7 separate regions of the Homo sapiens genome follow, and regions 1, 2, 3, 4, 5 and 7 are each linked to region 6. The links are contacts of gene promoters, found by promoter capture Hi-C in blood cells and fetal thymus (Javierre and others, 2016). All regions are on one chromosome and are shown on one strand. The core of a region is centred on a gene start or on the middle of the fragment in contact, and the rest is flanking DNA. Distances in the headings are between cores, read along the strand shown.

Evidence for each region. The method cuts DNA at HindIII sites, captures the fragments that hold promoters and counts their contacts. A CHiCAGO score of 5 or more calls a contact.
Region 1: a fragment that was not itself captured here is called in contact with the fragment with the promoter of CCDC182 in region 6 in 1 of 17 cell types (fetal thymus); the score reaches 5.9 in fetal thymus.
Region 2: a contact is called between a fragment that was not itself captured here and the fragment with the promoter of CCDC182 in region 6, in 5 of 17 cell types (total CD8 T cells, erythroblasts, naive CD8 T cells and 2 more). The highest score is 7.0, in total CD8 T cells.
Region 3: a contact is called between a fragment that was not itself captured here and the fragment with the promoter of CCDC182 in region 6, in 14 of 17 cell types (naive CD8 T cells, total CD4 T cells, erythroblasts and 11 more). The highest score is 10.5, in naive CD8 T cells.
Region 4: a contact is called between a fragment that was not itself captured here and the fragment with the promoter of CCDC182 in region 6, in 9 of 17 cell types (erythroblasts, fetal thymus, megakaryocytes and 6 more). The highest score is 8.8, in erythroblasts.
Region 5: a contact is called between a fragment that was not itself captured here and the fragment with the promoter of CCDC182 in region 6, in 4 of 17 cell types (total B cells, megakaryocytes, total CD8 T cells and 1 more). The highest score is 7.5, in total B cells.
Region 7: a fragment that was not itself captured here is called in contact with the fragment with the promoter of CCDC182 in region 6 in 16 of 17 cell types (fetal thymus, megakaryocytes, erythroblasts and 13 more); the score reaches 17.8 in fetal thymus.

The regions. Positions count from the first base shown.
Region 1 is chr17:57,092,959-57,096,172 of GRCh38, reverse strand. The region is part of intron 1 of AKAP1 (A-kinase anchoring protein 1); the gene reads right to left. Among named protein-coding and RNA genes, the nearest start is that of AKAP1, 9.3 kb to the right of the region's middle. RefSeq lists an enhancer at 2,790-3,214. The HindIII fragment of the contact is 4,020 bases long and covers 1-3,214 here.
Region 2 is chr17:57,197,739-57,200,877 of GRCh38, reverse strand. No RefSeq gene overlaps it. Among named protein-coding and RNA genes, the nearest start is that of MSI2, 57 kb to the left of the region's middle. The HindIII fragment of the contact is 1,721 bases long and covers 804-2,524 here.
Region 3 is chr17:57,159,656-57,162,897 of GRCh38, reverse strand. No RefSeq gene overlaps it. Among named protein-coding and RNA genes, the nearest start is that of AKAP1, 76 kb to the right of the region's middle. The HindIII fragment of the contact is 6,765 bases long and covers 1-3,242 here.
Region 4 is chr17:57,113,122-57,116,238 of GRCh38, reverse strand. AKAP1 (A-kinase anchoring protein 1) reads right to left here. Exons shown (of 11, transcript NM_003488.4): 6 at 1,603-1,780; 7 at 1-128. Among named protein-coding and RNA genes, the nearest start is that of AKAP1, 29 kb to the right of the region's middle. RefSeq lists a silencer at 1,877-2,171. The HindIII fragment of the contact is 9,490 bases long and covers 1-3,117 here.
Region 5 is chr17:57,181,414-57,184,433 of GRCh38, reverse strand. No RefSeq gene overlaps it. Among named protein-coding and RNA genes, the nearest start is that of MSI2, 74 kb to the left of the region's middle. The HindIII fragment of the contact is 1,373 bases long and covers 1,021-2,393 here.
Region 6 is chr17:57,743,620-57,746,731 of GRCh38, reverse strand. It overlaps CCDC182 (coiled-coil domain containing 182), which reads left to right and starts at 1,433. Exons shown (of 1, transcript NM_001282544.2): 1 at 1,433-2,237. The coding sequence starts at 1,460. The coding sequence ends at 1,921. The HindIII fragment of the contact is 19,296 bases long and covers 1-3,112 here.
Region 7 is chr17:57,142,924-57,145,950 of GRCh38, reverse strand. No RefSeq gene overlaps it. Among named protein-coding and RNA genes, the nearest start is that of AKAP1, 59 kb to the right of the region's middle. The HindIII fragment of the contact is 2,027 bases long and covers 476-2,502 here.

The DNA of each region.
Region 1 (3,214 bases), core at 594-3,093, 650 kb after region 6:
TAAACCAACTCCTGCTCTGGAAAACTTAGTACCCGAGGTTGAACTGCCCAGTCTCTTTCCTGCTCTGCTGGCCAAATCCATGGCAGGTCCAAGTCACATGCCTCTTTTCGTGAAGGAAAAATCATCAGCACCTCCTACAAAGGTCTTCCTAATCACTTCATTTTGGGGGTAGGGGTGTGGATTTTAAAACTTTGAAGACTATGTCACACTCACCTTGCCCCTCACCTCTGGCCTTGACAACCATCTTGCTTTACAAGTGAATTCCGCCAGGTTTCTAAAGATGGTCACAACACAGGTGCCAGGAATGCCTTCCTGGGTACATGGAGTTCCCGCCCACGACCACAGAAGACATTACACAAAACTGCCCAAAAAGTATGAAATGGCAATCTGACAACAACCTGACTTAAAAGCCAGTAAAGACATCAGAAAAGATGTTGGTGTGCAGCAAGAAACCCTTCGCAGCACCTCACATGGGCAAAACCAAAGAGGTAAGACCCTGATCTTCCTAATGGCAGACAGTGAACTACGACCACCCCAGAAATCACATAAAAGCATAGAAGGTAATTTCTATTCAACAAATAATTACTGGCACTCACAGAGAAAAGCATGGTGGGACACAAATTAATCAGGCAAGGCACTGCCCTCGAGGCACTTTCAGTCTTGGCGGGGAGTAGTGGAGGGCAGAAGAAAAAAAAAAAAAAAAAAAAAGCCCAAACAGGCCACCACGGTAGCTCACGCCTACAATCCCCAACACTTCGGGAGGATTGCTTGAGGCCAGGAGCTCAAGACCAGCCTGGGCAATATAGTGAGACCTTGTATCTACAAAAAAAAAATTTTTTTTTAATTACCCAGGCATAGTGGCGCACACCTGTAGTCCCAACTACTCGAGAGGCTGAGGTGGGAGAATTGCTTGAACCCAGGAGGCAGAGGTTGCAGTGAGCCGAGATCGCACCACTGCACTCCAACCTGGGCAACAGAGTGACACCTTGTCTCAAAAAACAAGCAATGACCTTTTCTCCAGTGGGCCTGTTACTGCCACTCTCTGCTACTGACCAACTGAAAGTTTTGTCCATAGGACATGGAAGTGCCCTGTTAGGGGTGAAGGAGGAACAGAAAATGGGGTGCCAGTGTCCTCAGACTAGAATGTTCTAGTATCTTGGGGTAGGAATGAGAGAATATAAGCCTGAATGCCAGCATTATGGGAGCCAAGGAGAGTTGGGATGCCCCATTCAATATATAGACTTTCATTCAAGACCCATCTTCAGCCAGGCACGATGGCTCACACCTGTAATCCCAACACTTTGGGAAGTTGGAAGATTACTTGAGCCCAGGAGTTCGAGACTAGCCTGGGCAATGTGGTGAGACCTCATCTCTACAAAAAAAAATTTAAAAGAATTAGTCGGGCATAGTAGTACATGCCTCTTGTCCCAGCTACTGAGCAGGCTGAGGTGGGAGGATCACTTGAGCCCAGGAAATCAAGGCTGCAGTGAGCTATGATGGCATTACTGCACTCCAGCCTGGGGGACAGTGAGACCTGTCTTTAAAAAAAAAAAAAAAAAAAAAAAGTTGGGGGGGACCCATTTTCACCACTCCCTGGTACCCAAATCCAGATCGCCACATTTATAACTTCTCTAAAAAGTGAAGCCAGACCTTCTGCTGGCCTGGCCTGGCGGAAGGGCTCCACAGGCCTAGTTGTCTGCTGACTTCAGCCACCCAACTGAAGGCCCAATCCATGCCTTCAAAGGTGCCTGTCCCTGCATGGATCGGCTGGCTTCTTGTGGGCCACAAACCACGCACACCTTCTCAGCAAGCTACTGAACGATGGGCTCCCCCAAGACAAGGAAATCAACCAAGAAAGGAGGGGCACTGGATCCAGAAACGAGACAAGAGAAGGGGAGAGGGAATTCCAAGGCTGAAGGGGAAGCAGAGCCAGGGAAAAGGGATGCGCCCAGGAGAAACGTGGAACCGTTGCGAGTACCTGGTATGTGGAGCCACAGTGAGAGCCACTTTCCCCCAATGACAGGCATTCCACAGCAATGGTGGAGGCTGCGAGGTGGTCAGGGAACTGGTGAGAGAGACAGAAAATTAAGCAAAAGAAACTAAGGAAATTAACTAGGAGAGGAGAAGAAGAAAATGAAGGAAAAGAAGAAATATGGGAAACTAAAAACCTTGCAGCCATAAACAAGGTTCATATTATAATAATGTATATTCTGAAGATCAACTTGACCAAAACTTGGGCTATCTCTACACTGGGATGATGAGGGAAGAAAAAAGCATAGGAACGAGCTAAATCCTATCTCCCACAGCAGAAAAACAAATCAGATAATAATCCTTAAAAAGAAAGAAAATAATACTACTGACAATGGTGGGGACAGCTGGAAGAATTGAAAGTAATGGGGGTGGGGGGCAGTGGGCAAAGGACTGTCCTTTCAAGCCTTGTACACAGTCAAAAGCCAAATCCTTTCTACAAGTAATGTTTTGATAGAAAACACGTTATTAAGATACATACAAGTAGCAATGCATGCTCTATTACCACACAGCTTTATGTTTCTTATTAACCATCCTAAATTTGCATTAATGTCAACTCATCTGTGTACAAACTTGTAAGGCCTTATTTTCCTATAATAATTGATGCCAATTTTGCTTCAGAGACCCCCAGCTGCCCAGCTGACATAATAGTAATATCAAAAAGAGAGCATGCTTATTGACAGGTTAGATCCCTCTGGAAGCAAGGCATTGAGGGCTAGCCAGCATCAGATGGCTGGACCTCTCAGGGCCAGTCATTTAACAAAGAGTTTAACACGCACTGTGAGCCAAGTTCGCTGGGCACATAAGGCAAAGAGATCCCTCAGGAAGCAAAGGTGGAAGGAAGGGTAGAGAGTCAAATTACAGGTAAGATACTGCAAAGATTCCGCGACTTAAATATAAAGACCTGCAGCCTCTCTCAACTGATTGAGAGAACTGAGCCCTAAGGCTGCCCTTGCATGTGATGAATTACCTATATCCCTGTGCGTGTAGCAGGGCACCAGCTGGGAGAGTTGAGGAACGGTCACCTAGTCCTTTTCTGTGTGCTGTGGTTGAAATGAGAAAGGCTGGATGGAGCACTTGGAAGGGGAAGCTGCAGACAGAATGAGGCGGGAATGCCTCTTGGAAGAGGTGGCATCAGAACTGGAACACTTGAGAACTGTGCCAAGATCTGGGGGGAAGCAGGAGG
Region 2 (3,139 bases), core at 415-2,914, 550 kb after region 6:
AGAATGAAATATGTGATGAGGGAGAAGATGGTCACCGTGACTGAGATGGGACACTCAGGGCCTTAACAAGGGCAGCTGGCAAGCTCATTAATTTGAGGGTTTACACCCTATAATGCTCACCAGGTCTCCACTGGGCACAAGTGTGTCCTGGGACACAGGTAGGGTGGCGGTATGGTCTTGCCTAAGTGGATCTGAGCCATTGCTGGGCTCACCCCCTCCTCACGAGAGCAGATAGAATGCCACCTTGCAGAAAACCAAGATGTGGGCCTCCAACATGAAGCATGGAGAGATGCTCTGAGCCAGGGACCAGGACCCACTGTCTGGTTCTGTACATAGCTTTACTGAACACAGGCATGCCTATTCAAATCCATATTGTTTACGGCCACTTTTGTGCAGAGTTGAGCAGTTTCAACAGAGACCAAATGTCCTACAAAGCCTAAGATATTTACTATCTGGCCCTTTACAGAAAAAGTTTGCCAATTGCTCCTCCAGGCTATGGGGGATTCACAAGATGGGATTTTGTCAGAAATGGATGTTTCTGAGTATGTAAAATTTAAACCAAAGCCCTGCCTCTCCATCATCACTGGCTGCGTTATAATACAGTGTGCGTATCTCCTTCCCCATGCCCACCAATGGAAAGAAAAACTCCACACATTATCTCCAAGCAGATGGAAAATGGCTTCACTCTTTGGGTTATAGGGGAAATGCAGCAGAAAAACTTGTCCAGATGGTGGGTATGAATTCAAATGAAAAACCCACCCTTCAAAGACCAGGGTGTGTTCCCGGTGGGAGCCACACAAGCTTAGAGAGAAGGAGAGGAGAGAGATTTGGAAAGAAGTGTGGCAATGCTATTCAGAAATTCCTACCTGCCCTTTTGCAATCGTTTAAATAATCTGTGCTGCTCAATGGGTACTTTACCTGACCTAGTTAAGAATCAGATTGCTATTTTAACTGAGAAAAATGGTACTTTCAATCAGTTTAGAAAGAAGAAAAGAATAAACATTATCAAGACCATCTCTTAGAAGATTAGGACAAAAAAATCCAGGAGACGCTTCAAAGCTGTTTTTGTTTTTCTTGGCTTTGAAATACATAGACAGTCCTGATAATTTTATCTTCCTCGAAATATAGCAAATAAAGTCTATTTACTACTCCCGGGCAATTCCATACATAAATTAAAATAAAACACACACACATACAACACAAAGCACTTTAAACGAATCCTCCTGCGGGTCTCAAATCCATCATTTCTCTTCCTGTGGTGAGGGTTTTATGCCACAGATCAATGCAATTTGAACGTTTTGGAGGTGATTTTGTTTTTCATACCTTGCTATTTGATGAGTTTTTAGATGGCCATCTAAAGAACAGCTTACACGCTGTCTCTCATGGATCTCAGGGAGGCCTCAGATGAGCTGACATGTTGAAAGATGGTTAGCAGAGATAGAAGTATATTTTATCTAGTTTGTCGAAGTCAGCTTTTAAAGTTAGTTCAAACACACTACTTAGTGAATTCATGAAAAATCTTTTTTAACCCTGAGAATGATATTTCCATTTCTTGTCACCATATTTAGTAGGAGATGCTTTAAGAAACATCATCTTTCCCATTAAAAAAAGGCTTTCTAGGCACAAACTGTGCCACAAAAAGCATGTGGAAAGATAGGCTGATTCCCTTTGATTGTATTTCTGAATGTGTTGGTTTTAAAATGGGATAAGATATTCCAATATCCCTAATTAGAACTTTTTTTAAGCTGGCCACATAGGAAGGTGTTTCTGTGTCCATAAAAATCATCTTGTCTTGGTAGAACGTGCATTTTAAAATAATTTCATATGTGATTCATTATTTTTTTTCTTTCAACAAATCATCTATTAAGCACCCTGTATGGGCCAGATACTGTGCTAAACCTAGGAATACAGAGATTGAAGATACCGTTCTTGCCATTAAATTGCTCATAGTCTAACAGGGAAGATGGACACAGAAAAAAAAATTACAATGCAAAGCAGCGAGTGTGCCCCTAGACCCTCTCCCTGAAGTCTTCTCTTGTTACCGATGGCATGCATCAACAAGATTGATTGGTTGACTGGTTGACTGATGGCTACCCAAGCCTCATTCCTAAAAAAGACATTATCAATATGGCTAATCAAATGGTATAGCAAAAGAGCAAATGGATAGATTAGGTAGAAGTTAGCTAAATCTCCTACATTCTGCCAGAGAGGATAAATTTCTATCTCGACTCTTCCATGAAGAGCAGATACAGTACACTGATAGAGCTACAATAGCTTTCTCTTCCAGGCCACAGATATTAGACAGTTTGCCTTTACCCTCCCACCACCACCTGATATAAAAAATAAACACAGAAAGACATTATTGCTACCTAACAATGGGTAGGGGGCGGGAGTGGTGGTGAGGAAGGAATGAGATAGATGCTAACAGGGCTGCAGTCCCCCAAAGCTGTGCAAGTGAAGTCCCCACAGATGCAGTTCAGATGTGACTGGGTTCTGTGAACCCAAACTATGTAGTTAGAAAGCTTTTGGCTGCAAGTAACTGAATATCCAGTTAAGTGCTTTTTAAAAAAGTGTTTATTTTCATTACATACCAATAAATCCAGAGGCACTGATTCCAACCAAGGGGTATTCGAAATACTTAACAACCAATCTGTCCCAGACATTGACAAATGAGAACCGAAGCCTGACCAGTCAGAATAAAGCCTAGCCTTAAACAACCATTGCTGCTGGATCATACTTCCGGCTACACTCCATCCCTGGTTCCAGGCTGGCTCAGCATCACAATGTCAGGGCTCGGGTCCATTTCTGAGAGATTCTCTTAGCCCTCCCTTTGTGGTGATGAGATGGCTGCGACATCTCCAAACATCACTTTTCTTCATCTAGAAATAAAGTCTAAAAGCAGGAAGGAAGGGATGAAGGATTCTCTTAGTTCACCTCTCTTTTTTATCAAGAAGAAATCTTTCCCAGAAGCCCCTGGCAGACTCCCTCTTAGTATTATTGGCCAGAATTAGGTCACATGTCCACCCTGAAACCAGTCATTACCACAGGAAAAAGGGAGTACAGTGGTTACCTTGGACCAGTCACAGTTCATTCTCTGGGGAAATGGAGGGTCCTATCTTGCCAAAACGCATTGCTACTT
Region 3 (3,242 bases), core at 300-2,799, 580 kb after region 6:
CATTTCTAAGAGGTTGTGACAAGTCAGGTACACTGAGATATAGGACGGTGATGACTAGGGGCAATTCACCTTAGATGCTGTAGAAACACCACCACCACCAATTAACCACACATACACAACTAAAATATTCAGAAATACTCTGTTGTTAGGCAGTGGCATTTATGTCATTAATGCAATCAATATTTACTGAGTTTTTTAATCATGTATCTTGCCCAATGCATGTCTTCCATTTGGCTATTCCTGAGTTGCATATTTTATAACAAACTGGAAATAGTGTTTTCCTGAGTTCTGAGAGTCATTCTATTCAACTATTGAACCTGGGGAGGGGTGATTGGAACTCCCAAAATTGTAGTCGGCGGGGAAGAAATTTGAGTATCCTGGTCACTCCATTTATGGCTGGTGTCTGAAGTGGGAGCAGTCTTATGGGACTGAGACTTTAACCTCTAGGGTCTGGGCTAACTTTGGATAGTTCATATCAGAATTGAATTGGATTATTGGCCATGCAGTTGGCGTCAAAGAACTTGAGAAGTGGTATTGGAAAAGATACCATGTATTTGGTGTCGAGAAGAAAAAAAATCTCATATATTAATAGAATAAGAAAAAAATATATGACCATGTTAATAGACACAGAAGAAATACTTAAAAAAATTCAACACCCTTTCATAATGAAAATACTCTACAAGAAGGAAACCTTCATCAACCTTGATAAGGGCATCTATGAAAGTGCCTCCACCATCATCATACTTAATGGCAAAAGACTGAAGGCGTTCCCCTTAAAGATCAGGAAGTAGACAAGCACTTCCACTCTTGCCATTTCTATTTGGCATTGTACTAGAGGTTCTAGCCAGGGCAATTAAATGGGGGCTGGGGGAGGTGGGGGTGTGACACAACTACATTGGACACAACTATATTACAAAGCTATAGTAATCTAACCAGTGTGATACTAGCATAAGGATAAATGGTAAAAATAGAATTGAGAGTTCAGAAATAAACCCACACATCTATTGTCAATTGATTTTTGGCAAGACTGCCAAGACCATGTAATGGTGAAAGAATAGTCTTTCCAATAAATGTTGCCAAGACAACTAGATATCCACATGCAAAAAAATAAAGCTGGGTCCCCACCTCATACCACAAACAAACATTAATTCAAAATGGATCCAAGACCTAAATGTAAGAACCCAGTTCTTAGAATAGAACATAGGTGTAAATTTTTGTGACCTTGGATTAGGCAAAATTTTCCTAGCTAGAACCCCAAAAGCACAAACAACAAAAGAAAACATAGATAAATTGGATTTCATCAAAATTTAAAACTTTTGTGCCTCAAAGAACACTGTCAAGAAATTGAAAAGATAGTCTACAGAATGGGAGAAAATATTTACAAATCATAGATATGAGTCCAGAACATATAAAGAATCCAGAATATATAAAGACCTCTTACAAGTCAACAACAAAAAGACAAACAGGCCAGACACAGTGGCTCACTTCTGTAATCTCAGTGCTCTAGGAGGCTGAGGCTTGAGGATCACTTGAAACCAGGAGTGGGAGACAAGCCTGGGCAACAAAGCGAGACCCTGTCTCTACAAAAAACTTAGAAATTAGCTGGGCATGGTGGCGTGTACCTCTAGTCCCAGCTACCTGGGAGGACAAGTCGGGAAAATCACTTCAGCCCAGGAGTTTGAAGCTGCAGTGAGCTATGATTGTGCCACTGCACTCCAGCCTGGGTGACAAACCAAGATCCTATCTGTAAGAAGGAAAACAAAACAAAAACAACCAACCCAATGAAAAATGAACAAAGAACTTGAATAGACATTTCTCCAAAGAGCATATATAAATGGCCAACAAGCATATAAAAAAGATGCTCAGCATCACTAGCCATCAGGGAAATGAAAATTAAAACTACAATGAGATATCACTTCACACACACAAGGATGGCTATAATAAAAAAGACAAACAATGACAAGTGTTGGTGAGAATGTGGAGAAATTGCAACCCTAATAAATTGCTGGTAGGAATGTATAATGGTTCAGCCACTGTGAAAAACATGTGGCAGTTCCTCGAAAAGTTAAACGTAGAATTACCGCATGACTCAGCAATTCACCTCCTAGCTGTATATCTGAAAATAATTGAAACAAGTGTTCAAACAAAAATTTGTACACAGGTGTTCATAGGCACACTACTCACAATAGCCAAAATGTGGTAACAACCCCTATGCCCATCAACTGATGAATGGATAAACAAAATTTAGTATATCCATACAATGGAACATTATTCAGCCATAAAAAGCAATGACGTATTAATACATGCTACAACATGGATGAACCTTGAAAACATTATGCTAAGTGAAAGAAGCCAGAAAGAAAAGGCCACATATTGCATGATTCCATTTATATGAAATGTCCATGGGCAAATCCAGAGAGATAGAAAGTAGATTATTGTTTGCCAGGAGCTAGGGGTAAGAGAATGAGGAGCGGGTATGGGGTTTCTTTCAGGCGTAATAAATATGTTCAGAGATTAGATCATGGTGATGGTTACATGGCATTATGCTAAAAAAAAAAAAACTAAACTCAATACTTGAAAGTGGTTAAAATGGTGATTTTTATGTTATGTAAATTTTACCTCCATTTCTTCTGTTTTTTTTTTTTTTTTGAGACAGTCTCACCCAGGCTGGTGTGCAGTGGTGCTATCTCAGCTCACTGCAAGCTCCGCCTCCTGGGTTCACGCCATTCTCCTGTCTCAGCCTCCCAAGTAGCTGGGACTACAGGCGCCCACCACCACGCTCGGCTAATTTTTTTTAGTAGAGACGGGATTTCACCATGTTACCCAGGATGGTCTCGATCTCCTGACCTCGTGATCCACCCACCTCGGCCTCCCAGAGTGCTGGGATTACAGGCGTGAGCCACTGCGCCCCACCTTTTTTTTTTTTTTTTTTTGAGATGGAGTCTTGCTGTGTCACCCAGGCCAGAGTGTGTGGCACAATCTCGGCTCGCTGCAGCCTCTGTCCCCTGGGGTCAAGTGATTCTCCTTCCCCAGGCTCCTGAGTAGCTGGGATTACAGGCAAACACCACCACACCTGGCTTTTTTTTTTTTTTTTTTTTTTTTAGTGGAGACGGAATTTTGCCATGTTGGCCAGGCTGGTCTCAAACTCCTGACCTCAGGTGATTCACCTTCCTTGGCCTCCCAAAGTGCTGGATTAAAGGCATGAGCCACAATACCTGGCCCATTTCTTCTTTTTTTAATTT
Region 4 (3,117 bases), core at 340-2,839, 630 kb after region 6:
TTTCACCCTCTTATATCCGCCGTAGTCCACGTATCGAATCTCCACTTCGTTGGTCTCCTCGTAGGAGGCAACCACTTGGGCTCGCCACCAGGCCCCGTCCGCACCAGGGGCGGCACAGATGACCGTTACTGCAGGGTAGGGAGCAGAGTGCGTGGAACGCCTGGGCCAGGGCAGGGCACCAAGGGCCACCTGGCCACTACCCACCTCCCTGCGTTACCTCTCAGAGGCCTGCAACCTCCACAGTGCAGGGGACAGGAACAGCAACCGGCCCCAAGCAAAGCCTCCCCCAAGCCCAAGACCAGCCGAGGGAAAAACCTGGATGTGAGAAGTTCAGCCTAGCAAGTGTGCCGCCCCCGAGGCCATCCAGACTGAGAAGCATTCAGTCTAGATCCATTACTCCAAAACTTCTGGGACCCAAGAGGGACACAGATGAATAGGAATAAACCAAGTAAATATAGCACTCGGGGAATGGGGGCCAGGGCCAGCCTTACATTTAAAAGAAAGTCCCTGAAGAAATCAAGTGCAGCAGATCTCAGCATCCTCATACCTAGGGTGTGCTCCAGCCCACAACTCAGCTGGAGAGCTTGACCAGAAGGGGCCTCCTGGGCCTAAACCCCCTTCTTCTAGCCTTTGCCTCTGGAAGGTGCTGACAGCACCTGGGCAGCCACCCAGGATCAAGGAGTCACTAACCCACTGTGGGTCAGAGGCAGACGAGACCAGGAGGTAAACGTTCCCAGCAGCACCCCAACAGCTGCCCACGCTGGCCAGGATGAGGACCTGTGACATGAGGCTGACTGTGCTGGGTCCTGACCCTTGGAGAGAACCCCTGGCAGTTACCCCTCAGGCTCCAGTTCAGTCTTTACTGCTGGGTTAAGGCAACTTTAGAGAAGCCAATGAAAACTAAGTCCTTATCCTTCCAAAAGGAAAAAATCCACACAAAAGGCTACAGAGATCACTTCAGAAGGTTTTCTACTGCACTGAGTGACCCTGCCATCCCCTGGTGAGGAATGGGTGATGTTCTGACATTCCATCCTCTGTGATAAGGACAACAAAGATAATAATGACAAAGGCTGGGCTCAGACCCCAGATCCTGCTCACTTGGGCAAGTCACCTGAGGCCCAGTTTTCTCATCTGTTAAATGGAGATGACCCAACACGCTGCACAGGCTTGTTGGACTTGGGGATTTTTTTGTGGTAACCATTATATGCATAAGTGCTTTATATGTAATACATACAGTATTCAACACTAATTCCTGGAACAAGTGGGTATCACCCCCTTTAACAGATAATAAATAGGTGGCAGATACTATGACACTGGCTTTGAGGGAAAAAAAAAAGAAAAAATTAAAAAAAAAAATTAGTGGCAGAGCTGGGATCTGAATCCCTGTGTCAAAACTCTACTCCAACACCCATCACTCTGCCAGCCAGTGGAAACCCCAGCTCTGCCTTGCCAGGAAACCCACCCCAGCTCCATAACAATGGCAAGAATTGAAGGATGCTGCTTCCATGAAGGATCGCAGAACAGCCTCCTCCTGATCAGGATCCAGGGCAGAACAGGCAACCCCAGGGGTCCCCCTTCCCGACCCCTCAGGGCACTGCTTACTTTCCACTGGGGTGGGCAAGGTGGGGATTCCAGGCTGAGAGTAACAGAGGTACATCTGCTGGTCGAGGCTGCGCAGCGCGTGGAAGGTAGGGTGTGTGTGCTGCTGCACGAACAGGTGCCCGGCATTGACCTGGTTGACCACAATGACCTCCACGGTGATGCCATCAGGCAGCATGAGCTGTAGAGGGGAAGGGGGAGCGGTCACTGAAACAATCCTTCTTATCTCATCTTTGAATAAGTCCCGAGACCCAAGGGCAAGTCTCTGGGCTAGCATATCTTTGAAAAGGGCAACTCAAGACAACATGGCACCCAGAAGGTAGAGGTTGAAGGACTACTTTAACAACAGAAAGTGTTCGACACCCCTGTGGCTGTTGTCCTGCAATACCACGAGCAGCCATTAGGGGCAGTCTCACCTCAGGGCCAGGCAGGGAGGGTCCCACAGACACTGGGCAACCAAGAAGCAACTGCGGAGGTAGTGCTGGGCCTTGCACAGGCCTGGGCAGGGTCCACCTACCAGCAGTGCCCTCCCTCCCACTTCTGTTGATGAATCTATAAGACCCAGGGAGGGCAACACAGGAATGAGGTGGCCGCTGAGAACAAGACTCCTGAAAATAAGCAGTAGGCAGGCCCCAGGCCCTTTAGCCAACTCCTGTGGACTGGCAGACAACCCCAGGAGCCTATGGTCTGACAGCATCTACGCTGCCCTCCCAAGAGCAAGCAGTGGCCTCAGGTCAGGTCCATGGTCAAGGTCTAGCAGAGTCTGCTTCCTATTTGCTCTCCCTCCTACTGCTTACCCTCCTGAGGTCAGGAGTTCAAGACCAGCCTGGCAAACATGGTGAAATCCCATCTCTACTAAAAACATACAAATTAGCTGGGCATGGTGGAGCACACCTGTAATCCCAGCTACTCAGGAGGCTGGGGCAGGATAATCGTTTGAACCTGGTGGGCAGAGGTTGCAGTGAGCCAAGATCATGCCACTACACTCCAGACTGGGCAACAGAGTGAGACTCTGTCTCAAAAAAAAAAAAAAAAAAAAAAAAAAGAGAGTGAGTCTACGACCGAGCCTCCTGGGAAAAAACTCTTGATTCAGGAGTAAAGCATAAAGTGGTATTCAGCCTACTCTCACATATCCACAGGAAAAAGATATCCCAATCCTTTCCCTCCAGCCCAAGGGCCTTTGCAAAGGGGAAGACACAAAACTGAAATGCCTACCATCCATAAAAAAACAAAAAAACAAAAAAAAAACACGAAGGAGGACAATTTCCTTGGAGCTATAGTCAGCCCATCTGTCCATCTGTGTAAAACGTAGTCAACAGTCGTTGGCCCACAGAATTCTGCAATTCTACTCCCAGTGAGATAAGACCCAACCAGGGCCAGAGGCACACGGCAGGATATGGGCCACGGCCCTGAGAGACCCTGCAGTCAGCAGCACACAGGGGCCCTGGAGATAGCAGCTCTTCCCTCTGCCAAACTCCTGGGGCAACCTCCCAAGAGTCACTGGACTTCCGGGCCTGG
Region 5 (3,020 bases), core at 458-2,957, 560 kb after region 6:
AGCCGTAGTGGAGGCAGTGGAGCCCAACCATGGTGTAGTGTTGCACTGGGCAGAAAAAACAGGGACCTGGTGGAGGAGACAGATCAGAGTTCAGGGCTCTAAGATGGCTGGAACTTGTGGGCTATGGAGCAGAGGGAACTGCAGAAAAGGAAACCCAGAAATCTGTGAAGCGGTTCCCTTCAAGCACCTGGACAAATCCTGAGCTGCTTGTGCCCAGGGTGGTAATTCACAAGGTCTGGTAGAGAACAGCTGACGAAGGGCTGACAGTTGAACAGAGATTTCAAGGATTGAAATCCCCGGGCACTGTGGCTCATGCCTGGAATTCCAGCACTTGGGAGGCCGAGGTGGGTGGATCACTTGAGACCAGGAGTTCAAGACCAGCCTGGACAACATGGTGAAACCCCATCTCTACTAAAAATACAAAAATTAGCCAGGTGTGGTGGTGGGCACCTTTAATGCCAGCTACTTGGGAGGCTGAGGCAAGAGAATTGTTTGAAGCTGGGTGGCAGAGGTTGCAGTGAGCTGAGATTGCACCACTGCACCCCAGCCTGGGCAACAGAGCAAGACCCTGTCTCAAAAAAAAAAAAAAAAAAAGAAAAAAAGAATACTGGCAAGTCTTTGGAATTCTGACCCAGACAGAGCCAAGACACACAGGGCCTTCAGTAGAGACCCCCCAGAAAGACCTCGTTGTAGAAATAAGGACCATGTCCTAGGAGCAGGTGCTTGGCCTAGGAATAAGGGTGAAACTGAAATAGATCCACCTTAACAAAAACTAAAACCAAACCTCAACAAGAGTGAGGTGACCCATCAAAAATTTAGCTACCTGCCCCCACCCCCAAAAAATTCAACACTCTTTAGAAAAACATTTTTAAAATCCAGAGTCGCTATGATACATCAGTCACAATACCAAGAATGTAATGAAAAATTACTACCCATTTTTCTCTTTCTATGTTCTTGGCCTTTGTCCTGTGATATGATTAAGTTACTTAGAGACAGTTTGATTCTTTCAGGTATTAAGCTTTGTCAGGTGAGACTAAAGCAGCATTTTGGGCTAATTTTGTACCATTATTTGAGGCAAAACTCTTCTGAGGACACTAACTGGGGACTCTCTCTGAATCATGAGGCTTTCTATTCTGGCAGAAACAGGAATTATTCCCAGTCCTGCGTAAGTTTGGGGCGTCGTTCTCTCTGATGCTCTTCAGTTGTTCTTTCTTCAGTTCTGCATGGTTTTCTCACATGCACGCACTGACAGGTATTTAGCTGAAGACTCAAGGAGAGTTCTCCAAATGTCTCCAGAACTCTCTTCCCCTCCCTCCTCCTCCAGTTCCCTTTCCCCTCGCCTCCTGATCTCCCACCCCTATCCAAGCTCTATTCTCCCTAATACTCTGTCCTATAAACTCTAATTACCTTGGCCTCCCCAGGATCCCAGCTCCATATCCTCAATTCAGGGAAACTGCTGGCTTCCATGTGGGTTTTCCCTCCCTATTCTGAGGCCTGGAATCTGTCTCTAGGCAAAGAGCTGGGGCAATTGTAGGAAGCTCATCTTATTTGACTCCCTAACCTCAACTGTCATTAGCCATTGTTGCCTGATATTCTACTTTATTTATTTATTTATTATTATTTTTTTTAGTCACTCCAGGCAGAAGGGCAAATCTGGTTCCTGTTAGTCCATCTTAACTATAACTTACAACAATACATTCAATTACTTAGAGGAAATGAAAACATTTTTTGAAAAAGAAAACTTTTGAAACTGATCCAAGAAGGAATAAAAAATATGAATCATCCTATATTTGTTAAAAATTGAATTCATCAGCTGTGTGTGGTGGCTCACGCCTGTAATCCCAGCACTTTGGGAGACCAAGGCGGGCAGATCACCTGAGGTCAGGAGTTCAAGACCAGCCTAGCCAACATGGAGAAACCCCATCTCTACTAAAAATACAAAAATTAGCTGAGTGTGTTGGCGCACACTTGTAAACCCAGCTACTCGGGAGGCTGAAGCAGGAGAATCACTTGAACCTGGGAGGCGGAGGTTGCAGTGAGCCAAGATTGCACCACTGCACTCCAGCCTAAGTGAAAAGAGTGAAACTCCATCTGAAAACAAAAACAAAAACAAAAACAAAAACAAATTGAATTCATCATTTAAAACCTTTTCACAAAGAAAACTACAGGTCCATGGCCGGGTGCAGTGGCTCACGCCTGTAATCCCAGCACTTTGGGAGGCTGAGGCAGGCAGATCACAAGGTCAGGAGATGAGAACATCCTGGCTAACATGGTGAAACCCTGTCTGTACTAAAAATACAAAAAAATTAGCCGGGTGTGGTGACAGGTACCTGTAGTCCCAGCTACTTGGGAGGCTGAGACAGGAGAATGGCGTGAACCTGCGAGGTGAAGCTTGCAGTGAGCCGAGGTGGCGCCACTGCGCTCCAGCCTGGGTGACAGAGTGAGACTCCGTCTCAAAAAAAAAGAGAAAACTACAGGTCCATATGCCTTCACTGGTGAATCCTATTAAAATTTTTGAAAATAAATAATACTAATGTTATACAAATGTTTCCAGAGAACTGAGGAAGATAAAATAACACCCAATAATACCCAACTCAGCAGAAACCTGATATCAAATTCTCACAAGGCCATTATAAGGAAAAGAAAATTTTAAACCAAAATCATTTATGAACATAGACATAGACAAAAATCCTAAACAAAGGCCAGCCACAGTGGCTGCTGCCTATAATTCCAGTACTTTAGGAGGCCAAGGCAAGAGGGTTGCTTGAGCTCAGGAGTTTGAGACCAGCCTGGGGAACATACTGAGACCTTGTCTCTACTAAAAATTAAAAAAAAAAAAAAAAAACTAGCCAGGCATGGTGGTGCACATTTGTAGTCCCAGCTACTTGGGAGGCTGAGGTAGGAGGATTGTTTAAGCCTGGGAAATGGAGGCTGCAGTGAACTGTGATCACACCATTGCACCACTGCACTTCAGCCTGGGTGACAAGACCCTGTCTGAAACAAATTAAAAATCTAAACAA
Region 6 (3,112 bases), core at 184-2,683:
GGTCTAGGTTGATCCTAAGTTTCTTAGTCTATTGTGTGCTGCTATAGTAAAATACCCGATGCTGGGTAATTTATAAAGAACAGAAATGTATTTCCTTACAGTTCTGGAGGCTAGGAAGTCCAAAATCAAAATGCTGGCATCTGGCAAGGGCCTTCTTGCTGTGTCATTCCACAGCAGAAGACATCACATAGTAGAAGGGCAAAGAGAGGGTGAGAGAGAGACATAAAGGGGCTGAACTTATCCACTTATAAGGAACCTGCTCCCAAGATAACAGTGTTAATCCATTTATCTCTTAAAGGGTAGCCTAATCATCTGTTAAAGGTCCTTCCTCATAATCCTGTTACAATGGTAATTAAATTGCAACATGAGTTTGGGAGGGGACAAATATTAGCATCACAGCACCAGTTGTCTCATGAGGGCTCTGGTGTGTGTGCTGTTCTGGGTTGCTCTCATTAATCTGACAGCAACACTGGAACAGGAACTGGTTTGGGTAAAGAGATCACCAATTCAGCTTTGGATGGCTTGAATTGGAGGCCCATTGTGGGGGAGACGTTTAGATTTGGAGACCAGGAGAGAAGTCTAGGCAAGAGACTGAGATGTGCAAGATGAAGGTTTGTTCCTGACTAAACCAAATGTAGATTAGCTAGAAGTATTTTCCTTTGTTCTAATTATCAGGTAAAAAGTACAAGATTTACCTTTCTATGTGTTGTTTCTCATATTTGTTAACATTCAGGTATGTTGGAAGACCATGCACTCACTTGTTCCCTGATCCTAGTGTGTAGTGAGCACTTAGTATTTATTGAATAAATATGACTAACCCATTTTTACCTTGCACCTGCTGAATCAGCCATTGCTGTGGACCATACATCAAAATCTAAGTACATTTTTCGCAATTTCTAAGATTTTATAGAATTCTGACATCATTATAGGAGTATGGACTTGGAATAAGAGATTACTTTTTAGCATTTTAGAGCTACAAGTGGGATTAGGTATCATCTCTTACAATGTCTTTGTTTTACTAGTGAGGTACTAAAGCCCAGAGACCAGTCCAAGACCATGCAGGTCCCTTGCCAGTGTGGGAGACCACCCAGTCCTGGCAGCCAGTGAGCCTGGCCTGGCCTGCCTTGCTCTGGCCAGTTTACTTCCCTGCTCTGGGACTTGGTTTGTTCCTTAGGTTAAAGAAGAACTTGAGTTCTGGTTCTAGAAGGGTGATGAGTTAAGGATCCACATCTCAGGAGGGCGACTTGGTCAGATAAACAGACAAAGCTCTAGGTAACCAACCAAGGAAGCTACAATATGCAAATGAATGGATTGTGGCTTTCTTTCTGGTTGGCTGAAGGGGCCCTGATGTCACAATTCTAGGGTTTCTCCACTCCGAATGATCGTGTCTCTAGCCAAAAATATTTATTGACCTGGTTGGTCTCTTGGCTTCCTCTCTTTGTCCAACGTAGAAGAGACAATGGAACCCCTCTACCAGGCTGGGTCCATTCTCATGACGGTGAATACCCTACAGGGGAAAAAAATGATAGAGAGTGGCCTCCAGTCTGGAGACTTTTCCCTGTCCCAGTCATGGCCCTCCTGCCTCCCACCACCCGCTGACTTGGAGATCCTGCAGCAGAAGGTGGCCGGGGTGCAACGGGAACTGGAGGACTTTAAGAAAGAGGCATTGAAGTCCATTCATTACCTTGAAGACGCCTTCTGCGAGATGAATGGAGCCCTGGTGCAACAGGAGGAGCAGGCGGCTCGCGTGAGGCAGCGGCTAAGGGAGGAGGAGGACCGTGGCATCGTGCGCAACAAGGTTCTCACCTTCCTGTTGCCGCGCGAGAAACAGCTCCGGGAGCACTGCAAGCGGCTGGAGGACCTGCTGCTGGACAGGGGACGTGACGCCCTGCGTGCCACCAAGAAGAGCCAGGCTGACTGAACCTCGTGGGTGGCACTAGCCAAGCACCAAGTTGAAGATTTTTTTTAACGGAAGGAGAAACCCCAAGTCCCTACCCCCTTGCTTTCCCTTCCTCATTTCCATTGCTTTCCTTCTGCCTAAATAACACCTTGCTGAGAGGCAAAAAGACTTCAATATTTTTTTTGGTGAAATTCCATTTATCCAGCATTCTAAAGGAAGGAGGCACCCCAGTACTGAGTCAGGCCCCTGTAACTTTCACTTGAACTGTTTTCCTGTTTGTAATGGTACTATTGCTCAATGTATACCTCTTTATTTGTATAGTATATTCTTAAACTGATTGTGTTGAACATTCACCTTTTTTTTTTTGAATGATTTGAGGCTTTCATGATTTGAGACTTAACACCTGGTCAACTGATACCACATCACGTAACACATGATCTCCCCAGAGGGGTCGGACTGCTTGCCCGTGCACTAACACTACCCCAGATTGCTCTGTTTTTAGTATTCTAACCCTTGTCTGTATGGTCTTTCTGTCTGCCTCTACTCTTAGACTGTCACATCTCACTTTTCTTTGCTGCCTCTTTCTACCTCTACTTCCTTTCCATTTAGACTGCAGACTGGCCAATCGGAATGACAGAGCTTATTGGGACTGTGTGGGTGGAACTCGCTGAGCTTTAGCAACCGATAATGCAACACCTCTGAGATGGCACTAGGAAGTGGGGAAACTGATTTCTGTGTTCGATCCATGGAGCAGGAATTATTGTCACAGTGCCTGGCCATTTATCAGGCAACACACACATACCATCCCACTTACTTCCATAGGCACCTTGGAGGTGAGTGTTGATTTTCCATGGTTCACACTGGGAGACTGGCCGCAGGAAGGCAAGTCCAGTACCCAAGGTCTGCACACTAGTAAGTGGCAGGGCCATGGTTTAAGTCCAGGTCAGCTGTGCTCATTTGCATCCTGCTGCATCCTTCTCTGCTCCCCAGTTTTGGAACCACTTCAGGCTGTTCATGGACGTGTTCTTCTGGAAGGCTGAGGTTGTCACATGGGTGACTTGGGAGTTCATTAGCTGACACTATACCTTTTATTTCCAATTAGTCTTCTACTTCATCAATTCATATATCTTCTCTCTGGCTACCCAAATGCTGCCATGCAGCAGGGATTCTCCTCTAAACAGCAGAAGAGACGTGCCTGGAGACCAGAGCCAG
Region 7 (3,027 bases), core at 240-2,739, 600 kb after region 6:
TGGGCTCAAGCGATCCTCCCACCTCAGCATCCCAAACTGCTTCAGCCACTGCACCCAGCAGTCTTAAAGTCTTAATCTTTGTTGAACAAGAGGCCCTGCAGTTTCATTCCCCTCCCACTCCCCACAAACGTAATGGTCAGTCCTGGAGTAGCAGACTGTGGCATTAATAGCCTATGTCTGGAGTCGGGGTTCTATTCCCAGCTCTGCCCCTTGCTGCCGGGGCATCTTGGTCAAGCCATTTAAGCTCCATGCCTCAGTGCCCTATCTGTAATATGGGGGTAACAGCTATACCCGTTCAGAAGATGTTAAGAGAATCAAATCAGCCTTCAGCTCCCAGCTTGGCACATTACAAAGTACTCAATGAAGCTCGGTGATTAGCGCTAAGATGATTGAGGGCGGATTACAGAGGCAGTACTCTTGCCTGGACCTGCCTCAGAAATGCCTTTTCTAAAGGCAGGAGCAAAAGAAAGAAGCTTTGGGATTAACTCTTCCAAAATAGCAAATGTTCTCTCTTCAGCATTAGGGCTAACACCAGTGGCATTATTACACCCCAGGAAAAATGTGTCCTCATCAAGTCACAAAAGCCTGGTTTCAACCCACAGAGGGAACAACAACAAAAACGTCTGAAATGCTGAAAAAGCCAAGAGCGTCGGGTACACGTTATCCAGCCCATCTTTGATTTGGGAGTTCACTGAAGCATGACTGATGCATGGTTATCTTGGGTCCTATATGTCTCTTCCGTAAATAGACTTTTGTTACAAGAAAAAAAATGGACTGACTTGGAAAAACAGAAAGAAACACAAGGAGCAGCGAGACTTTTTCCCTTCTCACAAAATGGACAGGTCTGAGAACTCCCAGGATCCTGGCTGTTCACAGATCAATTAACCTCCTGTAGCCTCAGTTTCTGCCCTTGTAAATGGGGAGTATGCAGGAGTGATGAGGAACACAGATTCTGGAGACAGACTCCCGGGGGCATCTTAACAATCTCACTTACCGGTTGTGTGGCCTGGGACACACACTAGGCTTCTGTGCTTCTGCTTCTACCTCCTGTAGAAGCTACAGTACCTACCTCCTGGGGTCGTTGGGAGGGTGAAGCAGGATAATATACATAAAGCGTAAGGAATGGTGCCTGGCCCAGAGTAAGTCCGCAATAAATGTTAGCTGCAGACCATGAACCTAAATCCCCCAGCTGCAGTTGTGCTGAATAATGGGAGAAGTAGTCGTAGCAGTTGTTGCTATTGTTATTTAAACTGCCGCAGGACCTCTGATCTTGTGACTTCAGGTTCCTTCTGCATATGCCTCCAAAATGTAGGAGACCCTTAAGGAGCATCAGCGATTGGTCAAGGCCTAGGGATAAGCTAAACTCAGATGAGATCTTCCCAACCTTCCCCACCCAGAGGACCATGATCATAGGCCTCAGAGTCATTTTAATGTCAGAGAAGAAAAGAACCAGCTGGGCGCAGTGGCTCACGCCTATAATCCCAACACTTTGGGAGTACGAGGCAGGCAGATTGCTTGAGCCCAGGAGTTCAAAACTAGCCTGAGTAACATGGCAAAGCCCTGTCTCTACTGAAAAAAAAAATGCAAAAATTAGACAGGCATGGTGGCACATGCCTGTAGTCCCAGTTACTCAGGAGGCTTAGGTGGGAGGATCACCTGAGCCCAGGAGGTCGAGGCTGCAGTGAGCCACTGCACTGCAGCCTGGGACACAGAGTGAGACTCAATCTCAAAAAAAAAAAAAAAAAAAAAAGAATCTTGTAGGTCAGCACGTCCACATTCCTCATTTATAGATGAGGAACTAAAGCTCAGAGAAGGCAAGTGACCTGCTCAAGGTCACACAGAACAGGAGCTGAGCTAGGAAGACAGCTCAGAGTTCATGACTTTGCACATCCGTTCCCTTCCTGTTCCCGCTTACAGCTTATTCTGTTGGAGTCCCTGGCCCCTCACAAGGTCCCCCGACCTCTCTATCTCCCAGGTGAGCATCTGTCAGGTTATGGACTCATCTAATTATTGGCCACATCCTACTAGAGACCCATTTTTCTTACTGAATCAGGCCACCATTAGGTCCTGAAAGCCCCATAAAGTCTTCTACGGATGAGCAGATCCTTTAATCTATTATTCCCGAGTCCTATTTATATATATTTATCCATATGGCTATATAAATAGGGCTTTGAGATGTATACGTGGCAGGTTATTGCTGTAGCATAGCTGTTCTCCCCAAGAGGAAAACAAAAATGATGTATGGCAGAAGCTCTTTTCCATGCAGAAAGCTCCTGTCTGATTTATTAAGAGTTAGGTTGCAGTCACATGCTCTGAAGTAGTGAATCTATTGCAAAGTTATCTAAGAGCAGGACACTCTCAGCTCCAGAAGCCAAAACAGCAAGTCTAGGGTGTGGCAAGAGCTCAAAGAATCTTACAGCAGTCACTCGCTAGGTACTTGCCATATCCCACGGTATTAACTAGGATTCCTTTGGTTGCAAGTTTAAGCAAAAAAGGGAAGCTTGTTATAAGGATATTGGGTGTCTCCAGGAACTCAAGGAGAGGCATGGGGCTGGGTCTCAAAATGGCTACAGATGCTTCTCTCTTATGCATCTCTGCCTTTCTCTGGTCCTTAGCTCCATTCTTCCCTCTTGCTCCAGATTATCATTCTCCATATGGAAGAAAACATGGCAGCCACCAGCTCCCAAGTTTTGCCTCTTACAGTTTCCACGAGCTGACTTTGTACTTTCTCTGGTCCCAAGTACAAGGAATGGAATCCAAGTTCCCCGTGTGGCTCAAGGGTCAGGAGCAGGGTCACGAACCCAGAGCAGCTGCTGCAGGAAGCATTCAATGAACTGGGTGTGGGCAGGAACAGTTCCCAGACAGTGTGGGAGAATTTTGTGTGTCATCAGACAAAGCAACCCGAATGCTTTTTCTCTATACTCACTGTGTGGACTTGGAAAAGGCACTTAGCCTCTCTGGGCTTCAGCCTCCTTCAGTGTAAAATTGGGATAATGGTGTGCTCCATAAAGGCAGTAGTTTTTTATT